2 separate regions of the Homo sapiens genome follow, and region 1 is linked to region 2. Evidence: promoter capture Hi-C in human tissues and cell types (Jung and others, 2019). All regions are on one chromosome and are shown on one strand. Each heading gives the region's core, a stretch centred on a gene start or on the middle of the fragment in contact. The rest is flanking DNA. Distances are from core to core; before and after follow the strand shown.

The links. Contacts are between HindIII fragments. The study calls those that stand out against the background at their distance.
Region 1: a contact is called between the fragment with the promoter of KLHL22 here and the fragment with the promoter of ZNF74 in region 2, in 6 of the 25 tissues and cell types used here (IMR-90 fibroblasts, bladder, liver and 3 more).

Annotation. Positions count from the first base shown.
Region 1 is chr22:20,493,070-20,499,071 of GRCh38, reverse strand. It overlaps KLHL22 (kelch like family member 22), which reads left to right and starts at 3,277. Exons shown (of 7, transcript NM_032775.4): 1 at 3,277-3,312. It overlaps LOC101928824 (a long non-coding RNA gene), which reads right to left and starts at 3,159. Exons shown (of 4, transcript XR_007068011.1): 1 at 2,385-3,159; 2 at 281-405. RefSeq lists an enhancer at 2,111-2,763 and a silencer at 2,958-3,617. The HindIII fragment of the contact is 15,001 bases long and covers 1-6,002 here.
Region 2 is chr22:20,392,661-20,398,015 of GRCh38, reverse strand. It overlaps ZNF74 (zinc finger protein 74), which reads right to left and starts at 3,865. Exons shown (of 5, transcript NM_003426.4): 1 at 3,354-3,865; 2 at 2,598-2,683. The coding sequence starts at 3,387. RefSeq lists enhancers at 3,685-3,824, 4,295-4,364, 3,766-4,755. The HindIII fragment of the contact is 17,508 bases long and covers 1-5,355 here.

The DNA.
Region 1 (6,002 bases), core at 2,028-4,527, 100 kb before region 2:
TATTCAGAGATCAGGGAGAATATTCTCACTGGTCATAAAGCCAAGCTCTCAGGACACAAATAAAACAAACAGGAAAGAGGTAGCTGTGCCTGGGAGGAAAGGATCAATAACAAACAGTTACCCCTCAACCAAATTTAAGCAAGAGTCACAATCCAGACACAATGTTTTCTTCTGCTAATTTGAATTTGGAAAGGAAGGGACAAGAAGTTTTTACCTTCCACTCTCAGCTGAGTACTACAGGCAGTGATATGGGACAGTTAACCTTGGTAAGAATGCTTACCTTTTGCCAGTTGTCCCAAGTGGGGTGTCTTTGCCACCCCACTTGTTTGTTGGGTGCCAGAAAGAGTAGGGGGAAAAGGTAATATTTTTTCCTCACGCATCACAAGGTTCCTGGTTGACACCCCTCTAACAAAGGACAGATTAACAAGAGAAAAGCATATCAATTTATTTAATATAAATTTTATATGACACAGTAGCCTTCAGAAAAAAGCCCCAGTGTCTAGTGAGGGGTCCGTTCTCTGCTTTTTTTTTTTGAGACGGAGTCTTGCTCTGTCACCCAGGCTGGAGTGCAGTGGCGCGATCTCAGCTCACTGCAAGCTCTGCCTCCCGGGTTCACGCCATTCTCCTGCCTCAGCCTCCCAAGTAGCTGGGACTACAGGCGCCCACCACCATGCCTGGCTAATTTTTTGTATTTTTAGTAGAGATGGGGTTTCACCATGTTAGCCAGGATGGTCTTGATCTCCTGACCTCATGATCCTCCCACCTCGGCTTCCCAAAGTGCTGGGATTACAGGCGTGAGCCACTGCGCCCAGCCGATTCTCTGCCTTGAAGATGGTGCTTATTACAGTGTCCTCACCTGGCAAAAGTGGGGGATGAGCTCCTTCGAACCTCTTTTATACACTGATCCCATGGTGAGGACTTCACCCTCATGACCTAAACCCCTCCCAAAGGCCCTACTTTATAATAGTATCGCACTGAGGATTCAGTTCCAACATATGAATTTTGGGGGTACCGACATTCAGACCACAGTGGCCTTCTTGTTGCTGCCCCAGGATTCCTTTTCCTCTCCTCTCTGGGTCCACCCGTACACCTGGTCCCATTGGGCCTTGGAGGTCAGTCTTCCCCTACCTGGAGCCAAGGGGGGCCTCATCTTCCCCCAGACCTGCTCTTGCTCTGGCTCCCCTGTAGGCAGGGTGGGCCTACTTCCCCACCCATCTCCTGGGCTCATTCTTCACACATCACTGGGCTTATACTGGGGAACCTGCTTCCTTCCCAGGTTTCTAGCCTGCTCCACTCTGGTCTTCACTCCCTGCCTGAGACCACAGCACTGTGGCTGGCTCCCTACTCAGTCTTCGTCTCTACCATATTGGCATCTGCCCACCCTGGCTACAGGGTGCCCTCAGGGCTAAGTCAAGCCTCCAAAGGGCAGGGTCTGCTCTCCAACCTTCCCTTCAGGCTCAGAAAATTCTGGAAACCTCCACACCACTCACTTTGAAGGATCTCACCTCCACGTTTGCTGACACTGTCGGCTTCCTGGAATGCTTTTCTTAATCCCAAAGTCCTCCTCTGTTACACAGTAGGGGGGTCTCCTCCAGAAAGTCTTTCTAGGAGGAAGCCCACTCCCATTTGGAACCTCTGCCTCTGGAGGCCAATCCCGTTCTCTTGATCCTTGTCTGGGACCCTCAGTTATCTCTCTGGACTCAGCCAGGACAGCAATTCTCTTCCGTGTATTTTCCTCCTTTTACATTCCCCTTCCACCAATTTTTTTTTTTTTTTTTTTTTTTTTTTTTGAGACGGAGTCTCGCTCTGTCACCAGGCTGGAGTGCAGTGGCGCGTGATCTCGGCTCACTGCAACCTCTGCCTCCCGGGTTCAAGCGATTCTCCTGCCTCAGGCTCCCGAGTAGCTGGGACTACAGGTGCGCGCCACCACGACCGGCTAGTTTTTTTGTGTGTGTTTTGGTAGAGATGGGGTTTCACCATGTTGGCCAGGATGGTTTCCATCTCCTGACCTCGTGATCCGCCCGTCTCGGCCTCCCAAAGTGTTGGGATTACAGGCGCCAGCCACCAAGCCCGGCCCCACCTTTCTTTTTAACCATGAGCCATCTCCAGCCACATCCTCCCCCTACCACTCTCTCCACCCTTCACAGTCCCTCTCAAAACCACAGTGTGGGACACTCCAACCTTATCCCATCAGGAGGCTCTGTGGCTCCAAGCTCTGGGCGCAGCCATTACGGATACGCCTCGGAGGATGGGACCTGCTCGAAGGTGAGGTGGAGAACAATGAATGCCAAGACCCGCGCACGGACCTCTGGGACCAGGCTTTAAGACTGGGAATTAGATTTACTGCAAAATCTCAGTAAAGGAACGGGCACACAAACTAGCACCTGTTCACTCTGGCGGTGTTAAGCGATTCTCCCCGATATCCCGCAGGGGGCGCGCTACGGTCAGCGGCACCGACCGCGGAGGGAGCGGGGAAGGAGCAGGCCGCGGGAGGGAGGGAATGAGCGCGTGACGAAGGGAACAAGTGGAGGAGAGGAGGAAAGAAGGGAATCAAAGAGGGAGGGAGGCAATGGGAGAAGAGGAGAGGGAGGGAGGGAAAGAAGGGGGGAAATGAGACAGGGAGGGAAGGAATGAGAGAGGGAGGAGAGAACGAGAGTTAAGGAGGGAGGGAAAGGGAATGAGAGAGGGAGGGGATGAGAGGGGGAGACAGGGAGGGAGTGAATGAGTGAGGGAGGAAGGGAATGGTGGGTAAGATAGGAAGGGAAGGAATGAGAGAGTGAAGGAGGGAGGGAATGAGAGGGGGGGAGTAAGAGAGGAGAGAAGAGAGTGAAGAAGGGAATGAGGAAAGGAGAGGGAGGATATGAGCGGGGAGGGAGATAGTGAGGAAGGGCAGGAGGAAGTGAGTCGAGGAATGAGGGTAGGACCGAGGCAAGGAAAGAGTCAATGGATTCAGACGGGGCGACTCTCGGCAAATTCGCTCATTCGTTGGTTCGGCCCCGCCAAGTGCCAGGTGCCGCGCTAGTGCGGGGACTCACTGAGCCTTGGCGATCGCTGCTGTCCTCCGCAGAGCGCCGGAGTGGAGCCGCCCCCTGTCTCCCCGCCCCAGGGCCGCCCCCGCGCTGCTACCCGGCCAGGCCGGGAACCCCCGGGCCTACGTCTGGCCCGCCCGGCGCCTGCGCGGCGCACCCACGTGACGGCCCAGGCCCCCGCCCCGCCGGCTCCTCTCGCCCAGCCTCCCGCCTCGCGCCTCCCGCCTCCCGCCTCCCGCCTCCCTCCAGCTGCGAGTGCGGCCTCGGCTGGCGGCGGCACCAGGTCAGCTGCGAGGCGTGAGCCGAACGGGCCGGGCGGCAGCGAACGCGGGGGTCGGGCGGCAAGCAGGCATCGCTGGGCCGGGGACAAGCTAGCGGCGCGGAGTCCGAGGGGCGCGGGGGCGGGCGCGGGCCGGAGGCTCGGGGGCGGCGACCTGAGGAGAGCCCGCGGCCTGACGTGGCGGGGACGCGGCCGGCGGGATCCCCGGGCGCGGGCGCGTAGGGGCCGGGATCTGGCGCTCGGCCAGGGGCCAGGGTGCGAGGCCTCCTCAGCGCGGCTGCTGGCGCGCCGGCCTCCTGGCACCCGGGCGGGCCCTGTTGCCTGCGGCAGGTCCGAATGCGGCCTTCCTGGCCGCGACCCTCCGCGCTGGAGCGGGCGGCCTTGCAACAGGCGGGCGATTTGGGGCCGGCCTGACGAGCCTCAGTTCCCTCGATCGGGCCCGGGGACTGCAGCCGTAGGAGCCCAGCCTTGCCAGCTCTCCCGGTTTCCTGAGAGGAGCCGGAGATCGCGCTGTCAGTGCAAAATCACCAGAGCGCGAAGCGTCGGCTGCCAGTTCTGACCATTTTAGATCCGGTGCGGGCCGAGCCGAGTGGATCTGGGGCGGGCAGCGGGGCACCGCCACCTTCCGCCTGGGCTCCTCACTGGGCGCCCTCGCTCCGGCCCTCCGCGGGGCCGAGTGCCTCCAAGACGGCTCCCTGGGAGATTCTTCCAGAGCGCACCCTTTGGAAGGCTGCCCCGCTGGGAATCAGCACCCACTCCCTCTCCTCTACCGCAGCCGCCCCCTTTGCCTTTGTGGCCGACCTTGCTTCATGCTGCCAAGGATTGAGTTTCTTTGAGGGGATACTGCTCGTTCGGGGGCCCTACAGAAGGCTGAGGGTATCTACTCAGTAAAATCGTACCGAACTGAAAGTTCCTCTGAAATGATTTTGACTCTGCCATCCATCACTTCATAAAAATTCATCTTGTATCCTTCAGTTTGTAGCTATGTGGCACATTAAGCTTCCTTTCTTCTCCCCACTGAAACTTCGAACAGTACAAAACGGGGAACTTGGCTTGTGATGACTAAAATTGGGGATATGAGACTGGGGGCGGGCGCGGTGGCTCATGCCTGTAATCCCAGCACTTTGGGAGGCCAAGGCTGGCAGATCACCTGAGGTCAGGAGAGACTAGCCTGGCCAACATGGTGAAACCCCGTCTCTACTAAAAATACAAAAATTAGCTGGGTGTGGTGACACGTGCTTGTAATCCCAGCTACTCGGGAGGCTGAGGTAGGAGAATCGCTTGAACCCAGGAGATGAAGGCTGCAGTGAGCCAAGACCCTACCACTGCACTCTAGCCTACACCATATAGTGAAACCTCTTCTCTACAAAGAAAATTTGAAAAATTAGCCGGGCGCAGTGGTGAGCTCCTGTTGTTCCAGCTTCTGAGGAAGCTGAGGTGGGAGGATCACTTGAACCTGGGAGCTTGAGACTGCAGTGAACCCCAAGCTGTCTCACCCCAGATAGCCAGGACTACAGGTGTACACCACCATGCCTAGTTAATTTTTAAATTTTTTGTAGAGAAAGGGTCGCGCTATATTGCCCAAGGTGGTCTTGAACTCCACCTACCTGGACCTCCCAAGGCACTGGGATTACAGGCATGAGCCACCATGCCCAGCCTACTTTGCACTTTTTTTTTTGGGGGGGGGGCAAAGTCTGGCTCTGTCGCCCAGGCTGGAGTGCAATGGCACAATCTTGGCTCACTGCAACCTCCACCTCCTGGGTTCAATCGATTCTCCTGCCTCAGCTTCCCCCTTCCTCAGCCTTCCCAGTAGCTGGGATAACAGGCATGCGCCACCACGCCCCACTAATTTTTGTATTTTTAGTAGAGATGGGGCTTCCTCATGTTGGCCAGGCTGGTCTTGAACTCCTGACCTCAGGTGATCCTCCCACGTTGGCCTCCCAAAGTGCTGGGATTACAGGCATGAGCCACTGTGCCCAGCCTACTTTGCACATTGTTTTTTTGTTTGTTTTTTTGTTTTTGAGACGGAGTCTCGCACTGTCATGCAGGCTGGAATGCAGTGGCGTGATTCTCCTGCCTCAGCCTCCCAAGTAGCTGGGATTATAGGCACCTACCACCATGCCCGGCTAATTTTTTTGTATTTTTAGTAGAGATGGGGTTTCACTATGTTGGCCAGGCTGGTCTTGAACTCCTGACCTCGTGATTCATCCGCCTCAGCCTCCCGAAGTGTTGGGATTACAGGCGTGAGCCACTGCGCCCGGCCACTTTGCGCATTTTGACTGTTGCCTAATGTTCTGTCAGATCACTGTGCCATGACATCTGTTCTCCTGAGGGTGGACGTTTTGGTGATTTAAAACCGTATAGATGTGGTTTTAAATGTTTTAAATGTTGCACCCTGTGCTGTGCTCCTTCCCAGCAGAGAATTGATTCATTTTTCAGCATATCCCCCTTAGCCCCTAGCTAAGTTTCTTAAATTGGACTTGGTAAATGTGCTTTGCCTGCCCATGGAAGATGTCTTTCTGTTTTACCGTACTTGTTTTTGCAGTATGGGTTTAGGGAGTAGCTGCCATTTATCCCTTCCCAAGAGAGCAGAGGCACTACTATGCTCACGGAAGGTGAGGATCCACCTGGGGGCTTGATGTCTATTGGGGTAGTTGTGGAGGTCACCCTCAGAGAAGGAGGCCCTCTTGACT
Region 2 (5,355 bases), core at 2,616-5,115:
AGTAATTCAGTTAAAATGAATTCAATGCAGTGGGCCTTGATCCAATATAACTGGTGTCCTCATAAGAAGAGGAAATTTGGACACAGACATAGAAGAGGTAAGACCATGTGAAGATGCGGGGAAAAGGTGGCCATCTACAAGCCAAGGAGAAGCCTCAGAAGAAATCAACCCTGCTGACACCTTGATTTCAGATTTCTTGCCTCTGGAACTGTGAGGAAATACATTTCTGTCATTTAAGCCCTCCTGCCATACTTTGTATGGCAACCCTAGCAGACTAATACAAATGGAATATTACTCACCAATAAAAAGGAACAAACTACTGATTCACACAACAATATGGATAAACTCAAAAGCATATGCTAAGCGAAATAAAGCAGAGACAAAAGACCACATAATATAAATTCCATATGAAATCCTTAAAGAGGAAAATCTACAGCAAAACTATAGTGGTTACCAAGGGGAGAGGGGAGACCACTGAATGCACAGGGGCATGAGGACATTTTTGGGTCATGGAAACGTCCCATATCATGATTGTGGTGCTGGTTACACAACTGTATACGTTTGCTCAACCTCATCAAATTGTATACTTAAAATTGTACAACTGTGCTGTATATAAATTACACCTCAATAAAACCTTACCCCCCAAAACACTGGATTTCAGATGAGGAGGTAGAGATGAGGACAAATGCTGAGAACACACCCCTAACTGAGGCATGCAGGCATGAAGGATGACGATAGCCGAGGGAAGGAGAAAATGGGCTGAAACAAGGCTCCAAGCCAGGTGTGGGGGCACACACGTTGGTCCCAACTACTTAGGAGGCCGAGGTGGGGGATTTGCTTGAGCCCAGGAGTTGAAGGCTGCAGTGAGCTATGATTGTGCCACTGCACTCCAGCCTGGGCGACAGAGCAAGACTCTGTCTCAAAAAAAAAAAAAGAAAAAGAAAGAAAAACAAAAAAATAGCTCCACAGGTATCAGAATATGGTGTTGGCCAGTGAGGCTGTCAGAGGCTACATGGCTTCAGTGTGGGGAGCAAAACCAGCAAGAGTAGGGTAGGGTCTGAGGCCCGCACAGGCCTTTTTGATGGGTATTTCTGGCCACTGGGAGAAGTCCATGTCTAATGTGTCATCATTCTGCAGGGAAAGGAATAAAAAACCCAGACAGTATGCATTGGAATCAGATGCTGATGTGGTAATGACACTAGCAGAGAAGTCAGAACAGACCACACAAGATGTCCCAGGAGACAGAACAACTTGAACTGTGAGTGAGAATGAGACTGTCAAGAGAAAATGCCAAAGCTGATGTGTACTCAGGAGAGTCAACTGGTTATTCAAAGATCTAACAAGCTAATATTTTAGGAATAGGAATAACACATGCATGAGGGCCCTACCACCTAGACGGAGCTGCACAGACACATACAGACATACATACATGCACACACATTTTTTTTTGCTGAACCATTTGAAGGTAAGTTGCAGACATCATGATGTCTCACTCTACAGTCTTCAGCTTGTATCTCCTGTGGATATTCTCTTACATAATCACAGTACTATTATCACATGCAATAAATTTCATATTGATACAATATGACCTAAGATACAGCCCATTTTCAAATTTCCTCTTGTCCCAAACTGCCCTTTATCAATTTTTTTGGATCTATCCCCTAAGCAAGGAACATGCATTGCATTTGACTGTCAAGTTTCTTGAGGACTATAAAGCATTGTGACACACTACAGAAGTGAGGCACAGCTCACAATACACGTTTTGCAGCTGTTTCTAGCTGGCTATAATCTGCCATCACCTCTTTTGAGTGGCAGACTGACAAAATCACAAAATGCTAAAAAAAAAACAAAAACCCAAAGACCCCTTATTCCTCCACATCTTTCACTCTACTGTGCTCTCTTTGTCAACTGCACCCTTCTAAATACAACCATGGGGTGAGGTGGTTGCGGTAGAAAAACAAAATGAGGAACAGAGTTCACAGTCTGTAAAAGGAGGGATCTGGGTCCCATTTGGCTGCAGAAGTTCCCAGGGCCAATTCCTTGCTGAGCCCCCAGATTCTCTAAATCTCCAGGACTCTCCATGAAGGCCCCATGCCAGGGGCTGGGTACAGAGGAAAGCACACAGGGATGTGTCCCCTACCGCCACTCTTAACCAAGTGCTGCAATCCAGCCCTTCCTGAGCTGCTCCACGTGCCCCTGTCTGATTCCAGTCCCAGTAAACCAACCGTGCAAACATCCTGCACCAACCCCTGGCCAGCACGTGGATAGGCAAAGCGACCCCATGTGAGCCGTCAACTACTTTCTCAGATTCCACTAAAACCACTCCTCAGAGCTCCCAGCACAGCGCTGGGCAGAGAGATCCCCAGCAACTGACCCACTGAATTGGACTGGGCGAGACATTCAATAGAGCACATCTCGAGGGCACACCTCGGGCAACATCTGGACTCTTCACTTGGAGCTGTTCCCACTGCCCAGAGCTTCCTGAGGACTGGCCAGCAGGTACCCGGGTGAAGGTCTGTGGAAGGCTGACGATCCAGGGCTGGGGAGGGAATGTGCCAACCCTCTTCATAAAGAAGGAAGAACACACAGCCACTCACCTTGGACCTGGCTTCGGGAAGACCCCAACCCGATATATCCTCGAGATTCTCTTTCAGGGAAAGAGCAGGATCCTGAGAGGAAAGAGCTGGCGAAGGAGAAATGAGTCAAGGTCACGGCTACCAGGCTCACGGCTGAGCTTAAAGCCCACCTGTCGTGGCACAAGTGAGAATCAGAGAGGAGGCAGAACCTGCCAGCAAGGCCAGGTGGGGAACGAGCCCCAGTAGCTAGCACCAACAGAAACAGCATCGAGGAATAATCTGCCTGTGTCTCAGACACTCCAATTCATGACGAAAAGAGCTGCTACCCCCAATCAAGCACGTCTGAGTGGGAACAAATGATTGGGCGCGGGGAAGAAAGAAGCAGGAGGCCAGGAGCGATGGCTCACGCCTGTAATCCCAGCACTTTGGGAGGCCGAGGCGGGCGGATCGCTTGAGCTTAAGACCAGCCTGGGAAACATGGCAAAACCCCGTCTCTACTAAAAATACAAACATTAGCCGGGCGTGGTGGCGCGCGCCTGCAATCCCAACTACTTGGGAGGTTGAGGCGGGAGAATAGTTTGAACCCGGGAAGCAGAGGTTGCAGTGAGCGGAGATCAAGCCATTGCACCACTCCCGCCTGGGTGACAGAGTGAGATTCCATTTAAAAAAAAAAAAAAAGATGCTGGATGCTTCTGGGAAACTGGCCTGATCTCTCTGAGTGTCAATATCCTCAAGTGCAAATCCACAGACATACTGACTACAAGAGTGAAGCTGTACCTGTCTTCTCGGGCTCCGGGGCAGGGATCTCCATGGCCTCCACGGCAGCCTCCCCAGGAGGAGTGGGCAGCTGTGTAGCCTCCAGGATCCAGGGCAGGCCCTGAAGAGCGAGTACTGCTCCTGGGGCTGAGGGGCCTGCAGCGGAGCCCCGCGGGGCGGCCACGCGCTCACAGCTGCACGATCACACGCACGGAGCCCCCTCCCCGCGCCCGGCTGAGGTGGGGTTCAGGCCGGCTCCGCAGATACCCACTCCCCACACCAGGCTCAGCCCCATGCTCGGCGCACTCACGCCCCGGCACACCCCCGCCACACGCTCCTCCCGGCGAACCCGCGCTCGGAGACCAGGGCCAGGCCTAAGGTTCCGCGGCCAGGAGCCATCGGACGCGGAGCGACCAGCGGACAGGTCCCGAAGCGGACAGAGACCGCCGACGGTCTGAGGGACCGGCAAGTGGACAGACCGGACTCCCACAAAAGGACTGCGACTGCCACAAAGAGCAGCAGGCGGCCGCTGCGGGAAAGCGCGCCTGCGCGAAATAGGCGCAAACTACACCTCCCGGGAGCGTTTGCGCCGCGCAGGCGTCAGACTCCATTTCCTAGAGCGAGTTCGGGCCGGTGCTTGCGTCCCGACGCGAACGAGTATCTAGCACATCCTTCTAGGAAATGTAGTTCCTGGGCCCACAGCCGGGAGCTCCGGCACCCACCATGCTCTTGCGGGCGGATGTCGCTGTGTATCTCCGTGTGCGGATCAGTGTAGTGCCGCTGCATGGGTGTCTAATTGCGAGGATACTGGGAGGGCGGTGTCCAGGAACTAGAATTTGTCCTGTTAGTTCGTCCACGTCCCCACGTAGCTGGGAGTCGGGTGGGTTCCTGCCCACATCTGTCTGCAGGAAAGACTCAAGCCCCTGGTCTTACGGATATTGGGAGTGGTGGGTCTGGCCTCGAGGGGTTTTCCAGGGGCCCTGCCCCCACTCCCCCTTCTCGAGCCACATATCTGAGGCCCATGGGCGCGGGTCCCCAGAGGTGGGAGAGCCTTGGCCTAGTCCCCCCAGAGGGTCCTGTCCACAGTTCACCCCTGGGGCGGGAAAGGAAGGTCTGGGTGGCGGCCCAGTCCTGGCGGCACAGAGCTCTGCCATGAACACAGTGATGACGCCAGCGACAGAAACATTGAATATGTACTGAGCACCAACCAAACGCCAGGCCTACTTCAAGAGCTTGGAGTACATTTTTCTGGCAGAATGCTCACAGCAGTCCAGGGAGGTTTGCTAACTACTGTCATCCCATTTGGGAGATGAGGAAGTTGTGGTACAGGTGCGTGGGGTAACGTGTCGCAAATCACACAGCCAGAAGTAGGAATCCAGCACCGAAGTGCATTGCCACATTCCTACTGAGAGGTGGTCCGGGGTGGTGCACACTCCAAACCCTTCAGCCTCCCACCTTAACCGCAGCTTAGGCTTGGCCACAGGCTCTCACGTGACACCTGTCCACTGCCCACATCAGCACAGCTGTGCCCAGACCTCCCCTGCCCAGGGCAGCGCCCGTGTTTGATTTTGTTTTGAGACTGGGTCTCACTCTGTCGCCCAGGCTGGAGTGCAGTTGCACAATCACGGCTCACCGTAGCCTCAGTCTCTCGGGCTCAAACTATTCTCCCACCTCAGCCTCCGGAGTAGCTGGGACTTACAGACATGCACCACCACGCCCGGTTAATTTTTATATTCAGCGCCCATTTTTAATAGCAACCCAGTGAGAGGGGACAGCGTGCTGGCAGTCCTCACAGCCCTTGCTCGCTCTCGGCGCCTAGTCGGCCTTGGCGCCCACTCTGGCCGCGCTTGAGGAGCCCTTCAGCCCACCGCTGCACTGTGGGAGCCCCTTCCTGGGCTGGCTGCGGCCGGAGCCGGCTCCCTCAGCTTGCCGAGAGGTGTGGAGGGAGAGGCGCGGGCGGGAACCGGGACTGCGCGCAGCGCTTGCGGGCCAGCACGAGTTCCGGGTGGGCGTGGGCTCAGCG